2 separate regions of the Homo sapiens genome follow, and region 1 is linked to region 2. Evidence: promoter capture Hi-C in 16 types of primary human blood cells and fetal thymus (Javierre and others, 2016). All regions are on one chromosome and are shown on one strand. Each heading gives the region's core, a stretch centred on a gene start or on the middle of the fragment in contact. The rest is flanking DNA. Distances are from core to core; before and after follow the strand shown.

Region 1 (5,957 bases), core at 246-2,745, 230 kb after region 2:
CCATGGACCACATCCTCTCTCCCCGGTACAGCCTCGAGCTTCGAAACAGAAAGCCGAGCCTAGTATGCCGCGGCCGGCGGGCTTGGTTCTCAAATCCTGGGCTCCAGTGGGTGTAGCAGGAAGAACTTCGGGGAATTTCCAGACAATCTAACTCCCCTCTTGGAGCTTCTTGAAGATTCAGGGGCCTTTTTCTAGTGGGACGCTCACTGATGTCTAGATGTTCCGTGATGTTTGAGGCAAGGGAGAGTGGGGGAGTCCCATCGTGCCGGACATACCTTCTGGAAGAGACAAAGGCTTCTAAAAAGGTACATCCTAGAAAAAAATGTAGCTTCCTTGTCTGGGGGAAGTGCCAGAACCATCTAGAGTGCATGGATGCCAGGAAGTGGGGCAGTGAGACTCCTGCACAAGGTCAGGGTGGCAGCTCGGGATGTCGAGATTCCGATGTCCCTTTAACAAGAAACCCCAGCCTGGGAGAACTGGAAACCAGATGTCACAACTCAAAATTATGGTATTTGGGGAAATACCACAAGATTTTGAAGGGTCTGATTCTAAGGGAAGGAGGGAGCCAGAGATGTTTTTCCACAGGATTTGGAAGGATGTGTGGTTTTCATCCAGGACATTCAAGGAAGCCAGTGTTATTTATTCTTCCTATGGAAATCCAAACTTGTGGGAATGTACCATGTGTTGGAATTGAAGCCATTGTCTGATGCAAACATATTTCCGTGATTTTGAAGTTGGCGACATTACTATACACTGATTGGCATGGGGACTTAGGAGGACAGCTCCAGAAAGCTGTCTTGTAGCTCCTGTCTCCTGGTGGACGTCCTTCACAGAATTGTCTTCTTGGTCCTCTAGAGAGCTTTGTGGGTGGAAAGTGGCATTTTCCTCCTTACAGGAAGAGAAATTGAGAGAAGGGGGTTATTTCACTTGATGAGATCACACTTTGGTGCTCAGCCTGCACTGAGCCTAGGAGTGTGAATTCCTAAGTTCACATAGGCATTCTAGAGAGACCACAGCATCACATAGTCATTCTAGCTAGCGACCGCAGCATCACACAGACACTCTAGAGAGACCACAGCATCACAAGACACGCTAGAGAGACCACAGTGTCACACAGGCATTCTAGAGAGACCACAGCGTCACACAGGCATTCTAGAGAGACCACAGTGTCACACAGACATTCTAGAGAGACTGCAGTGTCACACAGGCATTCTAGAGAGACCACAGTGTCACACACACGCTCTAGAGAGACCACGGCATCACACAGGCACTCTAGAGAGACCACAGCGTCACACAGGCACTCTAGAGAGACCACAGCGTCACACAGGCACTCCAGAGAGACCACAGTGTCACACAGACACTCTAGAGAGAACACGGTGTCACACAGACACTCTAGAGAGAACATGGTGTCACACAGACACTCTAGAGAGACCATGGTGTCACATAGGGATTCTAGCGACCACAGTGTTTCCCCTCCTGAATGTCCCTCTTTGTGTAGTTTGTGTACCTGTGTAAAGATGTGAAATCTCCTCTGTAGAATTGATGAACTCCTCCCTAAAGCCAGGATACCACTTCCTTTCAGGTAAGGGGAAGTCTATCTTTCTCTTACTGCACCAATGTCACTTTCTTTAGAGTTTGTGTTGAGCTGGCACGATGATGGCGTACAGCAATGTTGACATGCTCTGCTAAAACACAGAATATACTGTGATTATAATCAGTTCTTATATACAGGGCCATGGAAGGGGAAGGATGATGGCATAACCAGGGTGAGGAGAAGGTCATCCTGAGGGCAAGGAACACAGAGGTTGTGGTGTAGTGGGGAGTAAAGGACCAAGTGGCATGAAGAGGATGGAAAACTTGGGACCACATGCATGGTTCAAGAATACAGTCAAAGCATGGAGAGAGTGGTCTGGAGCATGTTAGTGAAAATTCCAGGCCCACCCCTACCCAGCCAAGGGCATCAAGAGAGGTGATGACTTGTGGGTCTGTCCATCTCTCACAACAGCTTTCCGTGTCCCCTCCCTTCCTCCTGGGGTGCTGGCCACTGCAGGGCTCTGAGTCATGGGACATTCCAGCTTAAAGGGACCTCAGCAGTCATGGAGGTCACCCTGGACAACTCCTTTGGTTTACAGATGAGTAAACTGAGGCTCAGAGACAGGTGTAACTCCACCCACTGACAACAGAGCCAATCAGTGACAGGCCTGGGACCCTGGCATGGGGTCTGGTTCCAAGTCCAGGTATATATAGCCCTCCTTTAACTTCCTGGCTCCTGAAACAGAATATCTAAATCTTTGCTACTCAAACTGAGGCCCATGGAAGAGTAATGTCAGCATCGCCTGGGAGTTATTAGAAATGCAGACTCTTGGGCCCTGACTCACCTGGTAAATCAGAATCTGCATTGCAACAAGACCACAGGTGAGTCACCTGAATGTGAGAAGCACAGCCCTGGGGCCTTTCCACGTCCCTCCTGTGACCTTCCTCTACAGCATAGCCTCTGCTTCCTCTCCACTGCAACTCCCAGGACTGTCGTATTTTCAGGAGTTTTGCTAGCTACAAGTTCCTCTACTTTGAGCGTTCTGTTTAATCACCTCCCTCCCTGCAGTGCCTGTGAGATAAATAGCGTCTTATTCCTTATTATTACATATTTAAAATAGCCATATGAACTTAGTCTATGACTTTGAGAAGTGTGTTGACTTCTTGGGGCCTTAGTTTCAGTGTCTGTAAAATAGACCCACTGAGTGCAAAGAGCCATTCCAGCGTTATCATTCCATGATTCTAGAAATAAATCCCTCTTTCTCCTTTGCTTGGTTGTGAAAATCTGGGAACCTAAATACTTTAGAGGATTATTTCGACGGTTCCACTGCTTAAACAGAAGAAATGACGTCTTCTGTTAATTTTAAAATGCAAAGCTCCGTGCACACCCATGTAAATTCAACAAGCAAACTGTAGGTACTGCAAAATAAGATATTTCAATGACTCACTGGAATATTACTATCATTAGTAGTGTAACTGGCGTATTTGGGAGGATAAAGCAAGATGATGGAACGGTAGCTCTTTTGAGTGAGTGAGGGAGTGAGTCAGTCAGTCAGTTGGGTTTTAGAAGGAAGCCAGAGATGAAACCCTTCATGCAGAGTCGGCAGGGCAGGGCAGGCGGCACATTGGGCACAATAATCTCTGGAACAGCCCTCTGCAGTGGATGTGCTGGGCGTGAGGAGGAGGGGAGGCCAGATGGGCTTTTCAGGAGAAAAACCCCCCTGGAGGATGTTAATCAGGGGAGTGGGCAGCTCTTTGTGCTTGGGAAGTGGGAGGCATTTTTATTCCAAGTGTGGAGGTAACATGAAAGGCAGCTCAGGAACAAAAGGAAGCAAAGGACTCAATGAGGACGGAGGAAATGGACCAAGGCAAGGAGGTGTGGCGGGACCTGTTTGGGAGGAGACTGACCTGGGAAGACTGAGCAGGTGCAACGGCATGGAAAAGAGTCCCAGCCATGCTGAGCCCAGGAGGGGACTTAGAGAGCAGAGGCTGCTGCCTCAGAAGCCAGGCCTTCCCTGCAGAGCCTCTCAGGGACAGCTTGTTTCCTAGCGGCCCCAGGAGCCTTCTACACCCTGCCTTATAATACACATCTGCAAGTTTTTGGTGGCTGGAGTTGTGACTGGGAATCTGATCTAACCTAGAGCCATCTGCCAAACTACACACTCAGACTGTCCCTGATTACCTCTCACACCTCATTGTTAAAATTATTCAGGACATTTGTTAAAACATGAAGGCAGACTGTATTCAGGGAGACCATGCAGGGTCATAGGGACCAGTGCAGTGGGGTTTGCAGTAGGGAAGAGGCATTGGGCTCCGCTCCAAATACAGCAAGGAACAGTGGGAATTTACAGCCAAGGAGCAGAGTTGGGAGCAGTGGATGGAAGACTACTAAAAGGAAGCCTCAGGGCTGAGGGGGCTTCTGGCTAAACCAACCTAACCAGATTCCAGGCGAAGGCAGGCCAGGGTGGTCAGAGATTCCCTGGGGGATGGTGGGGGATGAGGAGCCCCATTGAGTAGCAAAGGGGATCAGATATTGAGGGTGAGGGTTCTGGCTAACTCGACTCAGCAGGACTTTTGCTAAAATTGAGCATTGCAGAAACAGACATAGAAGCCCCCAAATCAGGGCCTCGCTGGGAAGAGCACTCAGAGATGCCTGACTAGAGTTTGGCAAGGATGGGATCTTCCTTATCACGGATGCCTTCAGGTCATCCACATGTTCACACACTCTGTGAAAATAGGACTTTGCTGAGGTGTCCTCTTTGGGGTCCACATGCACATCTGTGATATTACTGAGACTCTGCCATAATAATCACCCTCCGAACCCCTGTCATGATCAAACCAACTCACCCTTTGCCTTCCCGGTGACCTTTCTCACTTCTTTACTTTAGACTCGTATGCTGGGGGGTGGGAGAGGGCTGGGGGGAAATACAGCCTGCTCTGGGGGAGCTGTATCTCCCTTCCCTCTGTGCCCTGGAAAACTTACATGTAAGGATGGGAGATACATTAACTGTTTATTTTGTGTTTCTGGTAGATAAGTTCTGAGATTAAGAATCATTGCCTACAAACATGAGTTGATTGATGGCTACCATGTAGTTGAAAGTCTGACATGGGCAGCACTCAGAGCCTAGCGGGTACTTAGAGAGAGGACAGGGAAAGCAGACGGAGGTGCCACCGGGATGAGTGGAGTTGTCCCATGAGGGCTCTTCCTGCCACCATGTTTGGTAAGGAAGAAATTCCCCATAATTTTCATCTGTCCAAATTTACCTTCCAAGGCTTTTAGAGAAAAAACTTGGCTGACATAGATAGACAGAAGCGAACACCATTTATTCAGAAACTGTAGATAAAGCTTTCTAGGAGAAAACACAAGTCCAAGTGGGTGAATGCCATGTTACATACCACCACAATTTGGAGCGTCCACTTTTTAAAAATCTCTTCATTTTCCTTTAAGGATGGAAACTCGAAGTCTAAGTGTCCTGGAGTGAATGAGGGAGTGGTTCTTTACATTCAGTAGAAATTAGCAGAATAGAAGTGGGCTAAAATCTTCTGCTGCCTTCACCAAACCCAAATATAACACCCTTGGTGGACGATGAGTGGCAGCTCCACTAGGAATGTAAGGCAGGCCGTAGGCGAGACGGCACGAGTTCTAGCAGTGACATTTAAAAAGTAAAAAAGCATATTTTTAAAAGTAAATTAATTTTAATAGTATATTTTACTTAAGCCAGAATATCCCAAATATTATTTTGATGTGTATTTGGTATAAAAGAGTACTAATGGAAGATTTTACGTTCTTTTGTCACACAGTACATTTCAGTTCAGACTAGCCACACTTCCAGAGCTCTGTAGAATAGGCACACGGGACTAGGGGCTCCCAAACTGGACTGCACAGATTTAGAGGACAAGGAATTGGACCTAAAGACTTAACTGAAATCTCTCGGATGTATCCATCTTATTTATTTTATTTTTGATCATTTGAAAGAATTCTAAGCTTTTTGAGCCAGCGAGTAAAAAAACGTCGGCATTTGGGATGTGGCTGTTCCTCTGTGATCACCACTGTGATGGTGGTGACACTCTGCAGAGAGAGATCTATCAAGAATCACACAGGAATGCCTATGACTCTCATCAGCCTTGCCTCAGCTGTTGACTTCTTGGGCAGGGTCAGTTACAGGCTGAGTCCCCTGTGCTCTATATAAGTCCCCACCTGAATTAGGGGTGCCTGCACCCCTGTGTGTCAATCCTGCCACCCGAAGTGGGAGTGGGAGCTATGGTCTTCTCTCTCCTCTATACAGTTCTCATGTTTTTAGGAGAGACCTTTGACAGACTGGGTGACGGTTGCCCAGGGTTCTCTTCCAGGGCCCCTCTCTTTCCCAGCTGTCCCTTAAGGACTCAACATGGATTTTACATCATTTGGATGCACCTTCCTCAAT
Region 2 (5,633 bases), core at 2,062-4,561:
GAACCATCTAAAACAGGGGTTCTCAAACTACCTGGTCTCAGGATCCCTTTACACTTGGGCCCTAAAGACTTTCAATTAAGTGGGTTGTATTTATCAATATTTAATGTATTAGAAATTAAAACTATGAAATTCTTAAATTATATTAGTCATTTAAAAATAGTAAATCATTTTAGATTAATATAAGCCTATTTTTTATGAAAAATTACTTTTCCAAAACAAAACTGTGCAAAGAGAGACAATGTTTTACATTTTTGTTAGTCTTTTATTTATTTATATTTTTTGAGATGGAGTCTCGCTCTGTCACCCAGGCTGGAGTGTAGTGGCGTGATCTCAGCTCACTGCAACCTCCACCTTCCAGGTTCAAGCAATTCTTGTGCCTCAGCCTCCCAAGTAGCTGGGATTACAGGTGCATGCCACCATGCCCAGCTAATTTTTGTATTTTTAGTAGAGATGGGGTTTCACCGTGTTGCCCAGGCTGGTCTCAAACTCCTGGCCTAAAGTGATCCGCCTCCCTCAGCCTCCCAAAGTGCTGGGATAAAAGTTTTCTAAAATCTAATTTTCACTTGAAAGCTTGAATTTTATCAGTGGCAATAAATACTGACAATTGTTTGCTTGAAAAGACAAGCTCATTTTATTCATTGTTAAGATGTCTGCCAAATATTCTTTCAAGTAAAAATGATATTCTATAGGAAAAAAGTGGCTAGTTCAGCTTGCAATTCAATTGCTTTTCTAGAGAAAAAATCCTACTTCAGTATAAAATAGAAATGCTTTATGTATTTATTTCCCATTTCTTTTTTTTTTTTTCTTTTTTTTTTTTTTGAGACGGAGTCTCGCTCTGTCACCCAGGCTGGAGTGCAGTGGCGAAATCTCGGCTTACTGCAAGCTCCGCCTCCCGGGTTCACGCCATTCTCCTGCCTCAGCCTCCCGAGTAGCTGGGACTACAGGCACCCGCCACCCGCCCAGTTAATTCTTTTGTATTTTTAGTAGAGACGGGGTTTCATCGTGTTAGCAAGGATGGTCTCAGTCTCCTGACCTCATGATCCGCCCGCCTTGGCCTCCCTAAGTGCTGGGATTACAAGCGTGAGCCACCTCGCCCGGCCTTGTATTTCCCATTTCTTTACACAGAATATTAAAATGAGGTTTATTTGAAGGTCATGATTTAATAAAATTAACTATTTTATTTCTTCAACAAGGACACTGTTAAGTAATACTGGCTTTAAAAAATACAGGTACTTTGTAATGAAGGACACAAGGACTTTCACAGTTTGGTGCTACTGCCTTAGACCAAGGTATCAGCAGTTTTACTCTCCATTGCCTCTGTACCATTAGTACAAGCATCTTAGTATCATTATGAAAATAGTTCTGACTTCATGGACCCAAGGATCAAGGATCAGCAGGGTTCTGTGGACTGCAGTTTGAAAACCACTGTTAGACCCCGAAGAGCATCTGTGATGATCAAATCTCAGAATAACAAAATAGGATGGAAAGTTGTGATATGTGTACGTGCGCTCTTCAGCCCCAGAGAATCCCTAGTTTTCATCAGATTATTAAAAAGATCAGTGAGCCAAGGATTAACATAACTTAGGCTTAGAAATCAACCAAAACTCTACTGTTAAGGCACTACTCTGATTTCCACCACAAAATATATTTCTGCTCTGAAAACATTCTATAACATAGAGAGAAAATGACCCACAAGGTCCATAGCAGTGATTTAGGAAGCTCCATATAAGCTTAGAGCATTCAGAGGGGATCCAAGCACACTTTAAACATGGTCTCTTGCCATTATGGTATCGATAAGGCTTAAGTATGATTATTAAAGATAAATGTAAGTGGAAAGGAAACTTGACTTTTTATGATGTTTTACGTAACACTTTTCCTCCATAGCACACATCAAATTGTAATTACACAGTTATTTGTGTGAATATTTATTTATTTATTTTTGAGACAGAGTCTCGCTCTGTCACCCAGGTTGAAGTGCAGTGGTGTTATCTGGGCTCACTACAACCTCAGCCTCCTGGGTTCAAGTGATTCTCCTGCCTCAGCCTCCCGAGTAGCTAGGACTACAGGAGTGCCACACCACACCTGGCTCATTTTTGTATTTTTAGTAGAGATGGGTTTTCGCCATGTTGGCCAGGCTGGTCTCAAACTCCTGACCTCAGGTGATCTGCCCCTCTCGGCTTCCCAAAGTGCTGGGATTACAGGCATGAACCACGATGCCTGGCCCAAATTTAGATTCAAAGTCATGTTGTGAATAGGAAATGTACCAGATAAGCTTTCAAAGTCTTGTTCCGCTAAAATTTAAGAAAGCACATAAGTACATCCTTCTAAATGAAAATAAAGACTTGGTTAATTTGTACATTTCTAGAATCCATGAGCGTATATAAATTCACATCTTAAAGCAATGTGAAAGACCATCAATATTTTATTTTTTCTACGCAAAAGCTGCCATATATTGTAAACAATAACAATGCTATGAATGGATTTCAGTGTCACCAACCTTATTGAACCATTCAGGGCTTTTCTTTTTAGCCAATGATAATGTTGTAATAAATCCAGCTAGCATTCCCGCTGCAGCAACGGTACCAAGGAAAATTCCACCTGCCAAGAGTTTCGGGGAGGAGGGGGGATATTAAAAAAAATTAAATAAAAAGAGGTTAAAAAGATGTACAAAAGTAAGTTTAAGATACTATTCGAGTTACAATCAAAATCACTTTTGAAATTCAAGAAACCATGGCTAAGCAGCTCTTGCTAACAGTAAATGACAGCGGCTGAGAAACACGCGTGACCGCACGACCTCTGGTTCCTTGGGTCATTCCGAATTATTATTCCCGAGCGCAGAGAAAAGGTTCAGCTTCCCTTCCCCTCTCCCCTGGGACCACAGCGTGAAGTTTCTCACGGGGAGGAGAAGAGACGATGGCAATCAGAAAAGGCAAGGCTCTAGAACAATTGCAGAGGTGACGGGGAAATATGGCACGCCCGGGAGAATAGCTCGCGGGATCTGCCCCCCGCCCCGCCCAAGGGGAGACTCCACCCAGTAAGCGACCTACCCTCCCTGGGCCGCCAGACTCCGCGGGCTAAACTCAGGGGCAAGCACAAGCTAAGGGCTCTCAGAGCGGGATGTGTGTGGGAATGCCCGCTCCAGAGCAAGCCAGGGTCCGGGGTTAACTCACCCCGACGCCCGCACCTCACCACAGCACATCTTACCTTTAACCAGGAAAAGCCGGTCATTCGTGGACCCCGGAGCCTCCAGCCCAGAGGCCGGCTGCCCAGTTGCAGCGCCCGCTGTCTCCATGTTTAGGTCGCCTCTAGTGCGTCCGTCCCCAACTGGGCCCGGGTGGAAGCGAGAACCAGGCGGAGGAGAAAGGTTCCGCTACCGCCTCCTCCTGTGCAATCTGAAGAAGGGTCCGGAGTGCGGCCGCTGTCCCCAAACCCTCCTCCCGCGCCGGGGCCGGGAAGACGTGCTGTGCCCAGCCCCAGGGGCGATGCCCTCCAAGGCCGTCTCTTAGGGAGGATCTTTTGATTTCTCCAAGGAGATCATTGCTGGACTTAAGTGATTACTTTGGCTGTTTGAAAGAACGCTCAGCCCCGACTGTAGGAGGCAGTGAGGGTCGCAGATTGCGCCAAGATTCCAGGCCCCGCCTGTGAGACCCTGGAGCTCATTTTCCTGATCAAGCTTACATTGTGTCCAACGATTTGGCCAGCGCTAACACTCCACGATTCTAAAACGCAAGCCTAGGTCTTCTGTCTGTACTTTTCTAGGTAACTTCCCAACAGTGTTGAGGAATAAGTGACAGGCTTTCTCCCTGGAGGAGAGCCAGCCACCCGGTTCTGCGGTGACGGGTACCTCCGCCGCGGTGTGAGTGCTCGGCCTCCGTCGGGAAGTGGAACACTCACAGGATGACCGAATGAAAGTACCACCCCCGAAAGGAGAGCGACGCCCGCTGGAAGCGCTTGCAGAGCTGCCGGCAACGTTGACCGCTAGCAAGCTTGGTCTTCCGCTGGGAGGCTGGTTTGCCCATTCTGTAAATGGCCGTGGAGAGGAGGAGGCTAGTGGTGATAGAAAATCTTTTCAGCCTCTCAGAGAACAATGACATCTTGTAAAATAAGGCGGTCTCTCTGCTATTTGTCCTGCCCCCCATCACCGGAGGGCATGAGTTTCCTGAGGATGGAGATGGGACTCTATGTTCAGTTTATATCCCCCAGCTTTCAGATATTAACTGGTTACCAACATCAAATGCATGTTGGATGAATGAGTAAATGAATGCATCCATTTTTGCGTCAGTGAAGTGCAGTTAATAGCTCAAACCTGGGCTCGGGTCCTAAACCGCTTCTCAGGTGTGTGAACTTGGGGTAACTTAGCCCCTCTATAGCTCAGTTTCCTCACCTGTAAAATTTAAAAACTGGTAGTAGGCCAGGCGCGGTGGTTCACGCCTGTAATCCCAGCACTTTGGGAGGCTGAGGCAGGTGGAGATCAGAAGTTCGAGATCAGCCTGGCCAACATGGTGAAACCCCGTTTCTACTAAAAATACAAAAATTAGCGGAGTCTAATGATGCGGGACTGTAATCCCAGCTACTCGGGAGGCTGAGGCAGGAGAATGGCTTGAACCTGGGAGGGAGAGGTTGCAGTGAGCCGAGATCGAGCCGTTGCACTCCAGCCTGGATGACAAGAGTGAAACTCTGCCATCCACCCCATCCCGCCCCCCCCACACACAAAAACTGATAGTACCTAACTCATAGGATTACTGTGAGAATTAAATGAAGCAACATCTATAAAGAAGTTAGCACAGTGCCTGGCACATATAAATATTCAATACATGTTAGCTCTAACTATTACCACCTTTGATTCCAGTAGCTATTTTGCAGCATTGCCTATGGGGATTTTTAAAAATGATGGATTATCAAGGTCTATCTACCACGGGAGATTAGAGCTCTGAAGGCCCGCGGGTGGCAGGGCAGAATGTAAAAGCTCCGTGGGGTTTCTGATGATAAAAAACTACTGCTCTGTTCAAATTTTTGTGTGGATGAGATCACACAGAATGTATGTGACCTTTGGATTTCCTGGAAACACGTCAGTATCTGAAAGGGCTTTTAAGCTGGTAAATGCTGTGCTAATTTGTTGAAGGACCTATCCTTTTTCCTTCCCCTCATACATAACAGTAACCATAGCTGCTAACATGTATTGAGTGCTTTCTATATATCTGACATTGCACTAAGTGCTTCAAGTACATTATCTCATTTATTCCTCTCCATAAACTCAGAAAGACTAACTTGCTCAAGCTCACACAGCTGTTAAGTGGCAGAGACAGGGCTTAAAAGCAGGTCCTTCCTTATCCACTGTGCCAGTCGTCCTCAAGTGTGAACTTGAATATTGGAATCACCTGGAAGGCTTATTGCACTCAGCTTGCTGGGCCCCATTCCCAGAGTCTGTGACTCAGTGGGGGCTGAGAACGTGTATGTCTAAGTTCCCAGGTGATGCTGTTGCCACGGATTCCACTTCGAGAACATCTTCTGTGTGCCTTCCTCTTATGGATTACACCTCTTAAAATCCACACCATACACTTTAGCACTTGGAAATCTGTTTTCCCAAGACTGCTTAGGGAGAAAAAGTGCAGATTCCTCCACTCTCTTCTTTG

The links. Contacts are between HindIII fragments. The CHiCAGO score rates a contact against its expected background, and 5 or more counts as called.
Region 1: a contact is called between a fragment that was not itself captured here and the fragment with the promoter of TMEM242 in region 2, in 1 of 17 cell types (total B cells). The highest score is 5.1, in total B cells.

The regions. Positions count from the first base shown.
Region 1 is chr6:157,549,198-157,555,154 of GRCh38, forward strand. The region is part of intron 2 of ZDHHC14 (zDHHC palmitoyltransferase 14); the gene reads left to right. Among named protein-coding and RNA genes, the nearest start is that of MIR3692, 23 kb to the left of the region's middle. RefSeq lists a silencer at 966-1,166 and an enhancer at 3,024-3,846. The HindIII fragment of the contact is 6,763 bases long and covers 1-4,877 here.
Region 2 is chr6:157,320,208-157,325,840 of GRCh38, forward strand. It overlaps TMEM242 (transmembrane protein 242), which reads right to left and starts at 3,312. Exons shown (of 4, transcript NM_018452.6): 1 at 3,205-3,312; 2 at 2,498-2,598. The coding sequence starts at 3,292. It overlaps TMEM242-DT (TMEM242 divergent transcript), which reads left to right and starts at 3,427. Exons shown (of 1, transcript NR_187268.1): 1 at 3,427-4,270. RefSeq lists enhancers at 3,075-3,414, 3,595-4,024. The HindIII fragment of the contact is 1,401 bases long and covers 2,271-3,671 here.